Regions from separate parts of the Homo sapiens genome. Here all the other regions are linked to region 3. The links are contacts of gene promoters, found by promoter capture Hi-C in blood cells and fetal thymus (Javierre and others, 2016). All regions are on one chromosome and are shown on one strand. Each heading gives the region's core, a stretch centred on a gene start or on the middle of the fragment in contact. The rest is flanking DNA. Distances are from core to core; before and after follow the strand shown. Region 1 overlaps CADM3 (cell adhesion molecule 3). Region 2 has its middle 6.9 kb from the start of AIM2. Region 3 holds the start of CFAP45 (cilia and flagella associated protein 45).

The links. Contacts are between HindIII fragments. The CHiCAGO score rates a contact against its expected background, and 5 or more counts as called.
Region 1: a contact is called between a fragment that was not itself captured here and the fragment with the promoter of CFAP45 in region 3, in 7 of 17 cell types (M2 macrophages, endothelial precursors, M1 macrophages and 4 more). The highest score is 11.1, in M2 macrophages.
Region 2: a contact is called between a fragment that was not itself captured here and the fragment with the promoter of CFAP45 in region 3, in 1 of 17 cell types (neutrophils). The highest score is 5.3, in neutrophils.

Annotation. Positions count from the first base shown.
Region 1 is chr1:159,179,271-159,182,678 of GRCh38, forward strand. All of the region lies in intron 1 of CADM3 (cell adhesion molecule 3), which reads left to right. Among named protein-coding and RNA genes, the nearest start is that of CADM3, 9.4 kb to the left of the region's middle. The HindIII fragment of the contact is 4,108 bases long and covers 1-3,408 here.
Region 2 is chr1:159,081,859-159,085,472 of GRCh38, forward strand. It overlaps a transcript of AIM2 not described here. Among named protein-coding and RNA genes, the nearest start is that of AIM2, 6.9 kb to the left of the region's middle. The HindIII fragment of the contact is 2,342 bases long and covers 236-2,577 here.
Region 3 is chr1:159,897,979-159,901,545 of GRCh38, forward strand. It overlaps CFAP45 (cilia and flagella associated protein 45), which reads right to left and starts at 2,187. Exons shown (of 12, transcript NM_012337.3): 1 at 2,118-2,187. The coding sequence starts at 2,120. It overlaps MIR4259 (microRNA 4259), which reads right to left and starts at 2,101; the gene lies at 2,001-2,101. It overlaps LOC124904435 (a long non-coding RNA gene), which reads left to right and starts at 2,272. Exons shown (of 3, transcript XR_007066679.1): 1 at 2,272-2,835. The HindIII fragment of the contact is 6,665 bases long and covers 1-3,567 here.

The sequences.
Region 1 (3,408 bases), core at 363-2,862, 720 kb before region 3:
TCCAAGAGAACAATAAGAAAGCTAAATAACTTAAAGAACAAACTAAAATGTTGTCTTCTCTAAGGATTTATTTTCCCTTTCCCCAGCTAGACTTACACTAACTGTGTATTGATTGCTAATTATAAGCACCTTTGGCTCATTTACTTCTAGTTCAGGGTCAAGAAGGTCAGGTGCATCACCTTGCTCTAGAGAGAAAAAAGAAAAAGTAATGAAGGCTGATGTCTCAGGCACTCATCTGTAGGCTAGCCATTATTCATTTCTCCCCTTTCTTCATATACTCCCAAATACTGGCAAGGTAGGATGAAGAACTAGTACTTCTGACAACAGATTTTATTGGAAATATGCAGATTCTTGTTTCATATTTTACTTTTACCCTTCTATGACCTGGCGCTTTGCTTCCAATTCTGATTTCAGTAAGTATATCAATGAGAGGTAACTTGGAACTTAGCATAGCAGTCAGTCAGTCTGAAGAGCCTGGAGCTGAGTTCTTGAGTTATTATAAAATGAGAAGCCAGTTTTACCATCTGCTCCTAATCATTTTTTTTTTGCCCAGCAAATGCAAAAATTACAGTGAAACAATTGCACTCACTAGTTCTTGCTGTAGTTCTTAAGGATGAGATCTTTCCAAATACATATTATATGTTTCTTCCCATAACTTCTATCTGCTAATCTCACACAAATATAAAAATTACCACCACTAAGCCCCTGAGCCTCCCATATTTTGATTTATCCTCAATTGCCACTTAATGCCAACTCTTTTCTGGTTTCCAAGCCCTGGAGTCCAATGTCAGTGACAGATGGACTGAGCCTCAACCCTGGAGAGGAGAGGATTCTGGCCCTCTCCTGGGGAGTTTGAGCAGAAGAGAGAGCCTGAATTCTGCTTTGGGGAGAATCTCTGAGTTTAAGCCATATGGTATTCTGGAAGTAAGGGGTTCTGATTAATATGGGCATGTGAAAAGGGCTCTGTATCTGGGTCATAATAAAATCTGTGTGTTCATGTCAGAAAAAAACCCCAGAAATATGATTAGTGAGAATCAGAGTGTCTTGTGTGTGTGTATTGAGGGGCACATGTCAAAATATGCATCTATCTTAGGGAACAAAAATGTGTGTTTGCCCCCATCAAATAAGAGACACTCAATGGAGATTTAAGAAGAGAGATAAGAGTTCTTTATGTCAGAACAATATTATTTTCCATTTCGGGGACTGTGAGATCTGTGGACTTGGGAGAATGTATCTATTTCACAGAAGAGTGAAATTCTCACAAAGTGAGGCTAATGCGAACAATGTACCGCAATTTTAAAAATACAGATTTTTTTTTTTTTAAGTGAGAAGAGTGCAGGGAGACTAAATAGCAGTTAGGATTGGGGGAATCAGTGAAACTAGAGTAGTGTGGGTGTGTAGAGCAGAACACATTTTTCTTCATGTAATGCTCCTAACCATTGCCCTGAACCTGTCATCCACACCCAGACTCTGATCATCCAGTGAAGGGAAACAGTAAAAACAAGTCAGGAAAATCAGAACCAGCAGAGATGAGTGCTTTCTTGCTTGACTTCTAACAAATTAAACTTTTCCACAGCATTGTTATCCCACCACACCAAGCCATCAGCCTGTAATATCTAAAGTGCAACATAAGGAGCATAGGAGAATAAGACAGAGCCCACTGAGAAAGGGAATTCATCCATGCCCTCAGACAGGTATTGGGGCACTGGGATGGGTAGTGCAGAGTATGAGCAAGTTGTTGGAACCTGGGCTGAGATTTTTCATCTCCAGAGAATATATTCTTTACTTCTGATTTTCTGGGATTTCTGGCCCATTCCCAGTCTCTATTTTCCCATACCCTTCCAATGAGCTAAATTGAATTCTGCGTTTGACTCTGTTATGTTTCCTTTCTCAAGTACTTTCCTAAGATGAGGAACTTTTTCCCCCCAGTTTTATTACATATGTGTGAAAACAGCAAGATAAATTGGGGGAAAGGGTATAAAATCCCTCTACTTAGTTTAAGAGGACAACTAAGAGTTCAAAGTCTGGCCTCCTGACTGTATTGCATTAGAATGCAGATTTCAAGTCATACCTGTCCGTATGTCTAAAGTGTTTGATCATAGTGAGAAGGGAATGAGGAGATGGGATAAACAGACACTCCTAAAATGGCTCAGGGCTGTTATCATCCTGTCTTCAGGGGCCTACTCCAAAACAACTGAAGACAGTCAGTACCTGCACAGAATCTGTGCTCTAGAGGTCCTCACTGAGCCCTCCCCCGTGCTCAGTTTCACCTCACCCTCTCATCCTCTTCAGGCAGAACACTAGATGCTTGTCTAGAGCACACAGCCCAGTCCCAGAAGGAAGCAGCTAAGGCAAGGAAGAGACTCTTTCGGGATCAAATCCCCTCCCTTTTTGTCTCTCAACTGCAGTTCTCCTTGCTACAACTCAGTATTGGCTACAGAGGGGCTTGTTTTGGTTGGGGGCCAGCCCAGGGCTCCCTCCTGGTGCTAATGCACCAAGAACACTGACTCAATAGCAAATCAAAGCAACAGCTGTCCCCACCTCCTTCCCTGCCACCCACTTCCCAGTCTCTGCTCCTCGGAATCTTAACTAAGTCTCTGAAGGCCCCCCTCAGCCTACCACAAGCCCACTTCTGCCTCCAGATTTTTTCTCTCTCCAGCTCAAGAATAGGACATGTTCCTCTGCTTTTTTTCTTCTCTTCTCTTCTGGCCCCTGTCTCCTGCTTCACAATCAGGTTAGCATTCCCTCAGCTCTTCACCTTGCAGATGCCAGCAAGCACACAGACAGACACACACACACACACACACACACACACACGCACACACACATGCCACCTGTCCTCACAGTCACCCTTTTTAGCTCCAAAGGGCATGGCAGTGACTTCTGCCCAATGGCCTCTTCTTCTGTGTGAACTGGAACCTGCCGGTAAAGCCCTGAAGTGTAAGAAGATGCCATCCGCCCCATCTTCAGGGACTCCCTCTTCATCATAACCAAACTTCTCCAACCTACTGGGCATTTAGTAGACTTACTTCTCTTAAGGTCCACGGTCCTGGAGTTCCTCAGTATCATGCACAGGAGATGAGGCATAGGAAGAGTGGGTGTCAGCGGAAATATTTGACACTTAGTGTCAAATTAACCACTGAATTAGCCAGTCCACAAGGACTGCTATAAACTATCAATGAGTACAGGTCTCACTCACTGCCTGTGTGACCATGCTCAAGTTCCTAAACCTCTCTGAGCCTTGGTTCCTCATCTTTAAAATAAGAGGATTGGACCAGATGATACTTAATATCTTGTCAACTATAAAAATCTACACTTCTAAGAATCATAGAGGGGAGAATATTTTGGGCAGAATTAGGTGCAACAGAAAGAAAAAAGGAATTACTGAACTTGGACAATAGAGAGTCA
Region 2 (3,614 bases), core at 157-2,656, 820 kb before region 3:
CAGCTCCCTGAAAACAGGAGGCAGTGAAGCACTCTTAATTTTTGTTTTCAATTTCATTGATTTCAGCTCTAATTTTTTAAAACTGTATTTTCTTATGCTTACTTTGCAGTTAATTTACTCTTATTCTTCTAGTTTCCTAATGTGGGAGCTTAGATGATTGATTTTTAGGTCTTTCTTTTTTTCTAGCCACATGCTTTTAAAATTACAAAACACCAAGGAGAGAGAAGATCCTAAAAGCTTCCTGAGAAAGAATAGATCATATCTGAGGATTAGGAATAAGAATAGAATTGGCATTCTTGACAACAACACTAGAAGCTAGAAGAGAGTGGAGCAATTCCTTTAACATTTGAGGAAAACAATTTTCAGCCTCGTCTTCTATACCTAGCTGATAATTATAATAATCACATGTACATGTAAGGAAGGAACAAAATTATTCAGGAATCTCCATGTCTCAGTTTGTTTGGGCCTCTATAACAAAAATACTATAGACTAAGTGACTTATAAACAACAATTTATATACACATTTATTTCTCACAATTCTGGAGGCTGGGAAGTCCAAGATCAAGGTACCAGCATATTCAGTACCTGGTGAAGACTTGCTTCCTGGTTCAAAGACAGCCATCTTTTTTCTTTTCTTTCTCTCTTTCTTTTTTTTAAAGGCAAGGTCTTGCCATGTTGCCAAAGCTGGACCCTAAGTCCTGGACAGCAGGTGTGCACCACCACACCTAGCAAGATGATGGCTTTTTGCTGTGTCCTCACATGGCAGAAGAGATGAAAGTGCTCCCTGGGCACTATCCCACGTAGTATAAGAGCACTAATCCTATTCACGAAGCCCATACCCTCAAGATCTAATCGCCTCCCCAAAGCCCCACCTCCTAATATCATCACATTAGGGGTTAGGATTTTAACATATGAATTTTGGGGGTAACACAAACATTCAGTCCACAAGGATGATGTCACCCCAGGATAATGGTGACCAGAAGCCCTTGAACCTTGACTTGTACACAGCTAGACTGAAACTTGTTCAAAACAGGGGGACGGAAAGCTCAAAAAAGAATATTTCCTAAGGAAAAAGTGTGTGAGATATATGTGTAAGTTTTGCAGGTAGTGGGTGGTTGCAGAGAAATTACCTGAATTTATTTTGAGAGAAATTTTACTGTTTTGGATCTTTTAAAAGAATTAGCAATAAGCACGTCAAGATGGAACAAATTATTAAAGATATGTCACTGACTTCAGAAAAAAATAAAGATGCATAAAGAAGGAATCTAAACATACTACATGGCTTAACTATTAGTTTTATTTAGATAGTTATGGTAATGTAAAACACCAAACAGTGATTTAATCAACAATTGTGAAATGACCATATTGGGAAAGTGGAAAGAGAGATGATGTACATGTATTTGTAAGATGTAGGGTTCCAACAATGTAAGAAAAGAGGTGTAAGAAAAGTAAATTTGTATCTTCTATTGCAGCAAATCAATAGATAATGGAGTGGCTAAAATTGAAAACTAGGAATGTAGCAATATTATGAAAGGTTAAAAAATGTTGCCTTGAGTGAGTGGGAATTGGGAGTGGTAAGGTATGAGGCAGGGGACTACTCTTTATTATCATCCTTGTAATATTATTGAATTTCAATCAATAGTAATATATTAACTGAATGAAAATAAATTTAAAACATAAATAGCTCTACTAAATGCTCATTGAAGTATCTTCCTATTCTAAGGATTTATATTCTATACCATTTAGCTCTACTAAATTTTAGCTCTACTAAATACTCACCCAAGTATCTTCCTATTCTAAGGATCTATATTCTATACTATCCTAAGGATCTACATTCTACACCATTAATCCAAATATGACCTATGATAAAATATAATAATATTTCAGAAATAGAATTCTTTACTTCCAGCTAAGTGAATTTGGAAAGGTCCAATTAGAGAAAAACAATAGCACTTGGACTAGTCCTATTGGAAGGAATAAGAGTTTTAACATGTGGAAATACAAAAAGTGGAATTCTAGGCCAATGGAATTGAATAGTCAATATTTATGGACCACCTATATATAACCAATTATTGATGCATTCTCTAGAGTCCCTAATTGCCTCTGGCACACAGAGCTAACCTTTACCACTCAGCCAGTAAGCCAATAAGTGAGAGATCTTTTTCACAGGCTATCTCATGTAACCCTACCACTCTATGTGGTAAATATATTAATTGAAACCCATAAGTGAGGGAACAGAGTTTAAAGAAGTTAAGTCATTTGCTCAAGGGTACCCTGCTAGTATGTGGTAGAGTCAGAATTTAAATCTGGTTATTTTCTAAAATTCCAATTCTCTTTCCATCACTCTGCCCTGCTTTTTGGCATATTTGTACATAATTTATATATTCTATATAATGTGATCAAATGAAAAAACCCTGGAGAGGCAGGGCCTTCCCTCCTCCAAGCCCACTTATTTCTGGTTCTCGCTCACCACATCCTTCCCTTCTCCTTTCACACAGCTCAAAACACAGCTAGACTTCCTACTGGAGAGAAAGCAACAATCTTGAACTGTTCAAGATTCCTACTGCAAACAACATAAGCTTCCCTTGATAGTTTAAGGAGACAGAAACTTTATTAAAAATATTAAACCCAGGCCAGGCACGGTGGCTCATGCCTGTAATTCTAGCACTTTGGGAGGCCAAGGCGGGGGAATCGCTTGAAGCCAGGAGTTCAAGTCCAGCCTGAGCAAAAAACGGCGACCTTATCTCTCCAAAGAATTTTAAAAATTAGCAGGGCTTGGTGACACATGCCTGTAGTCCCAATTACTTGGGAGGTTGAGGCAGGAGGATCACTTGATTGTCTAGGAGTTTGAGGCTGCAGTGAGTGGTGATCAAACCACTGCACTCCAGCCTGAGTGACAGAGCAAAACCCTGTCTGAAATACACACACACACACACACACACACACACACACACACATACAGACACACACACACATCCCTCAGAGATCACTGGAGAGTCTGAAGGACTGAAGGAACAAGGTCAAGACTAAACTCACAGAAAAAACAAAAATGTGTTTCCCACACCTTCTCCCTCCACCCACATACACACACACCAAACCAGGCAACAAAACTATTCTGGATAAGTTCACTGTTTCTGCTCCCTAAACATATAATGCCAAGACCTGACTACACTGCAATTGCTAAATCTACAGAACAAATGCCACTTCCGTATGTACTTCGCAATTGCTGCTATTGCCTAAAACCCAGATGTCTGAAGCCAGCCGCATCAGCAAGATGGAAACTCCATGGAGAGCCAGGTTCTCATGTTGATGACTTCTAAATCAAGCCTCCCTTGGAAGCATCTGACAGGGCAAGCCTAGGTCACCTGTGTCCATCTGGGCTGCAAGAAAAAAAAAATGAGAATCTGACTCCTGTCTTCTGAGTTGGGGACGTGAGAATTATTACATGTGAATTATTTAAAAGGTTCTGGGAAGGTACAAATGTGACACATGGCCACTAAAAACTCATTCAAGAGAGATAAGGATTCCAGAATTATTCCCAGATTTCTGGCTCAGGAAAGTAGGTGAATGATAGTGTCATTACAGAGACAGGGAGTACCCAAGGAGGAGTAGGT
Region 3 (3,567 bases), core at 937-3,436:
TGAAGTTTCCCTGATGTAACTTCAACACCTGTCAACTAAACAGGTTGACATGTTCAGGAAAGATATGTCTTTTCCTAGATGTCTTACCCATTCTGAGATCTAGTTCTTCTTTTGCACAGTCTCCGCAGGCTGGCAAATTCAGGCTTCAAACTCTTGGCCTGGTTCTACTTCCCTTTCTGTAGACTTTGGTTACCAAGAAAGGGAGATTCCCATGCACGAGACCCCTTGCCTTTTACTCTGAGTGATCCACGCAATTATCCTCTTTCTTCAATTGGGACCAAGTTGGCCATCTGTAGGATGCCACCAGAAGATAACATCCTAGTCAGTACTGAGGTCCCCATCTCTCCTTCTGCAGGATTTTAATCATTATTTTTGTAAGAGTTCTGGAAGTCTGCCTAATTGTGACCCTCACCACCACTACTATCTCTTCTCATGCCTTTAAATATTCTCCAAACCTAGTGAGTAGCACTATACGTACACGAACACACACAGCTGGCCTGCCAGAGATCACTAACTTAGACCCACTGCTTCTCAAAGGTGTCTATATGCCCAGTCCTGTCCCAGGAATTACAGAGGGGCTCAGTGAGTGAGTCAAACCCCTGCCCTGAGTGGCTCCTGGATGGGGAATCCCTGATCTGGGTGCTCTGAAGCCCACAGGTCTTGCCCAGGTGCAACTTATGCCCTATGAGAGCTTGGAAATAGGAAATTTTTAAAAGAGGACAAAAGGGGAACTAACATTTACCATATGCCCTTAGACACCAGGCATGACAGTAGGTGTTCACATACATACATACGCCACTGTGTTTGTAAGGTGCTGAGAGAAGATGGGACACTGAATCAAATAGAATACATAAGTGAAAGGGGACGCTCCCCCACCCCAATTACAACACTGCAGGGAGTCCTCGAAAGTCAGGAACTGCTCTTTGTTGGAGACTTATTTAATAATTAACAAAATTCTTCTGAGGTCCACTGAGCCCCAGAAAAGCAATGCAGCCCCTGGGCCTGAAGTCTGTCCACAAGTACATCCAAGTAGCAACCTTTGCCACCTGTTGTGCCCCAGACATTCTAGGTCAGTTCCAATAACCCAAGACTCCAACACTTATCATCTGCCCTTCCCCTCCCCTCTGGGACCAACACACTCAAGCCCAGGCATCCCCTTCATGGTTCCTCCCAGGCTTTGCTGGCCTTCTCAGCCCTCAGTACCCTGACAGCCCTCCCCATCCCAGCAAACCCCAGGCTGCCAGTCCTGTCCCAATCTCTCTCCCGGGCCTTGCAAACCTGAGACCCTCCTCACTCACTCACTCATTTATTCATTCATTCATTCACTGCCAAATATTTATTGACTAACTACTGAGGGATACAAAGCCCTGCTAACAGAAGAAAAACCTGAGGCTCGGGCACATTAGATGACTTACCCACAGTCACCTTGCTAGTTAGTGGCAAAACAGGTACCACGACCCATTATCTGGCCTCCTCACCAGTGCTTTTTTTTTTTTTTTTTTTTTTTGAGACGGAGTCTCGCTGTGTCGCCCAGGCTGGAGTGCAGTGGCGCGATCTCGGCTCACTGCAAGCTCCGCCTCCCGGGTTCACGCCATTCTCCTGCCTCAGCCTCCCGAGTAGCTGGGACTACAGGCGCCCGCCACCACGCCCGGCTAATTTTTTGTATTTTTAGTAGAGGCGGGGTTTCACTGTGTTAGCCAGGATGGTCTCGATCTCCTGACCTCATGATCCGCCCGCCTCTGCCTCCCAAAGTGCTGGGATTACAGGCGTAAGCCACCGCGCCCGGCCCACCAGTGCTTTTTCCCACACCACATCCACAATCTTTGGTCCACAGAGGCCCCGCTGTAATGGCAACGGGGAGAGGGTTGGGGCATCCCTTTCTCCCCAACTCCTCCGCTCAGCGCGCTCCACATTTCCAATCGTTATCGATGCTATCCCTAATTCCTCTTTTGAACCCACCTCAGGATCTCCCTTGCTTCTTCTAGAGGTGTTCTCCTTACTCCTGGGCCCTCCTGACCCCTAGACCCAACTGTGACCTCCCCTAGGCCCCCACTTTCCCCACTCAGAGCCCCCACCCAATTCAGGACACAAGGGGCCCATCTGAGGTTCTCCCTCACCATCTCCTCAGCCACACGCCCTGACTCCGGACTTCTGCTGCCGCCTCGGCGCCGCCAAGGCCCTAGTGTTGACGCGTTACCTTGGCAACCACTAGCCCGCGTTCTTCGGCTCAGGCCCCGCCCCCGGCCCCGCCCCTCCCACCTCCAGCGGGCAGTTGCCTTGTGCTGGTGGCTTAGGAACCGGAGCCCGTCGCTCCAACCGTTGCAGCTCCACGCTCCAGCCCAACCGCGGCTCTGAAGGATTGACCCGCCCTGGCGTGCCCTGCTCTCCACTTTGGCTTTGGCCAAACTTTTCGGTCAGAACCCGAACCTAAAGAACTTACTATGGGCCGAGGGGGTTCTAACTGTCAGCGGCCCCAGGAGCCTGGCCCAGGGTCACAGTTTTCCCCTGGGACTTCACCTAGGTTGCTATGATTACTCTTGCCCCATTGCCCAGGAGGCGCCAAGCCAACCCCTGATGAGTGTAGTCTGCAGAGAAGCCAGCAGGATCAGGACAAACCAGTTCCACAGCAGGAGAGAATCTGGTCGGGTCAACAAAGAACTTCCAGCCCTGAGGATGTCTATGCAGTCTCAAGAGCAGTTTCTTAAATTGCGGGCCTCAAATCTGCAGCTAAGAATCACCTGGGAGAGTTTATTAAAAATGGAGGCCCTACATTAGAATAAGTCAAAAGCTAAGGAACTGACTTTGGGGAGCTTGTCTTTTAACACTTCCTAGCTGGTATGTATTGTTCTAGAAAGTACATAGGGGTTTTGTCATTTTTTCCAATTTGGTTTGGCCTCTCTACCTCCCAACTTGCAGGGCTGGCACTGAGCTCACTTTGGTAGGCTGCATGCTCCAAGCCTCACGAAGCTGTCCCACCAGACCAAGGACATTTGTCTTCCTCCAGTGCTGATTAGCTGATTAGCTAAGCTCTTGGTGTGACTCTGTGAGTCTCTGAGCTGCTTTCTCAAACCTCTCTCCAAACCCTCACAGCCAGTCTTTCTGAAGCTCTTACTCCAACTTGGGCACTGAAGGCTATTCACAAGCCCCGGGGGAATGGAAAGAGGGAGACAAGGTCACTTCTTGCTGCTTTTAAAAGGACTTACTCCAACAGGCTTCACATTCCTTCCCTAGATTTCCCAGCCTTTATCTCCTTTGGGATCAAGAGTACAAAATTGTGTCCCCTGCCCAGTCCCACCAAGTGTTGAAGGCTTAATCAGAGGGAGAAGGGAAGGCCTGAAGAGGAGGAGCACAGTCCCTGGGAGGCTTGGGACTGAGAGAAGGGGCTGTTTTGTTCGTGGGAACCTTCCTTACTAAGCCTTGGCATTAGAACCCCGTTCCCTGCAGCTCAGAAAGAAGGGAAGACAAGTAACCGGCCCACTGTGAATAAGGTGCTTCCTGTATTCACCCCATTCTCCCAGGCACATCTGCATGACATAGTTACTATCCGTGTAACCAAAGAGGAAACAA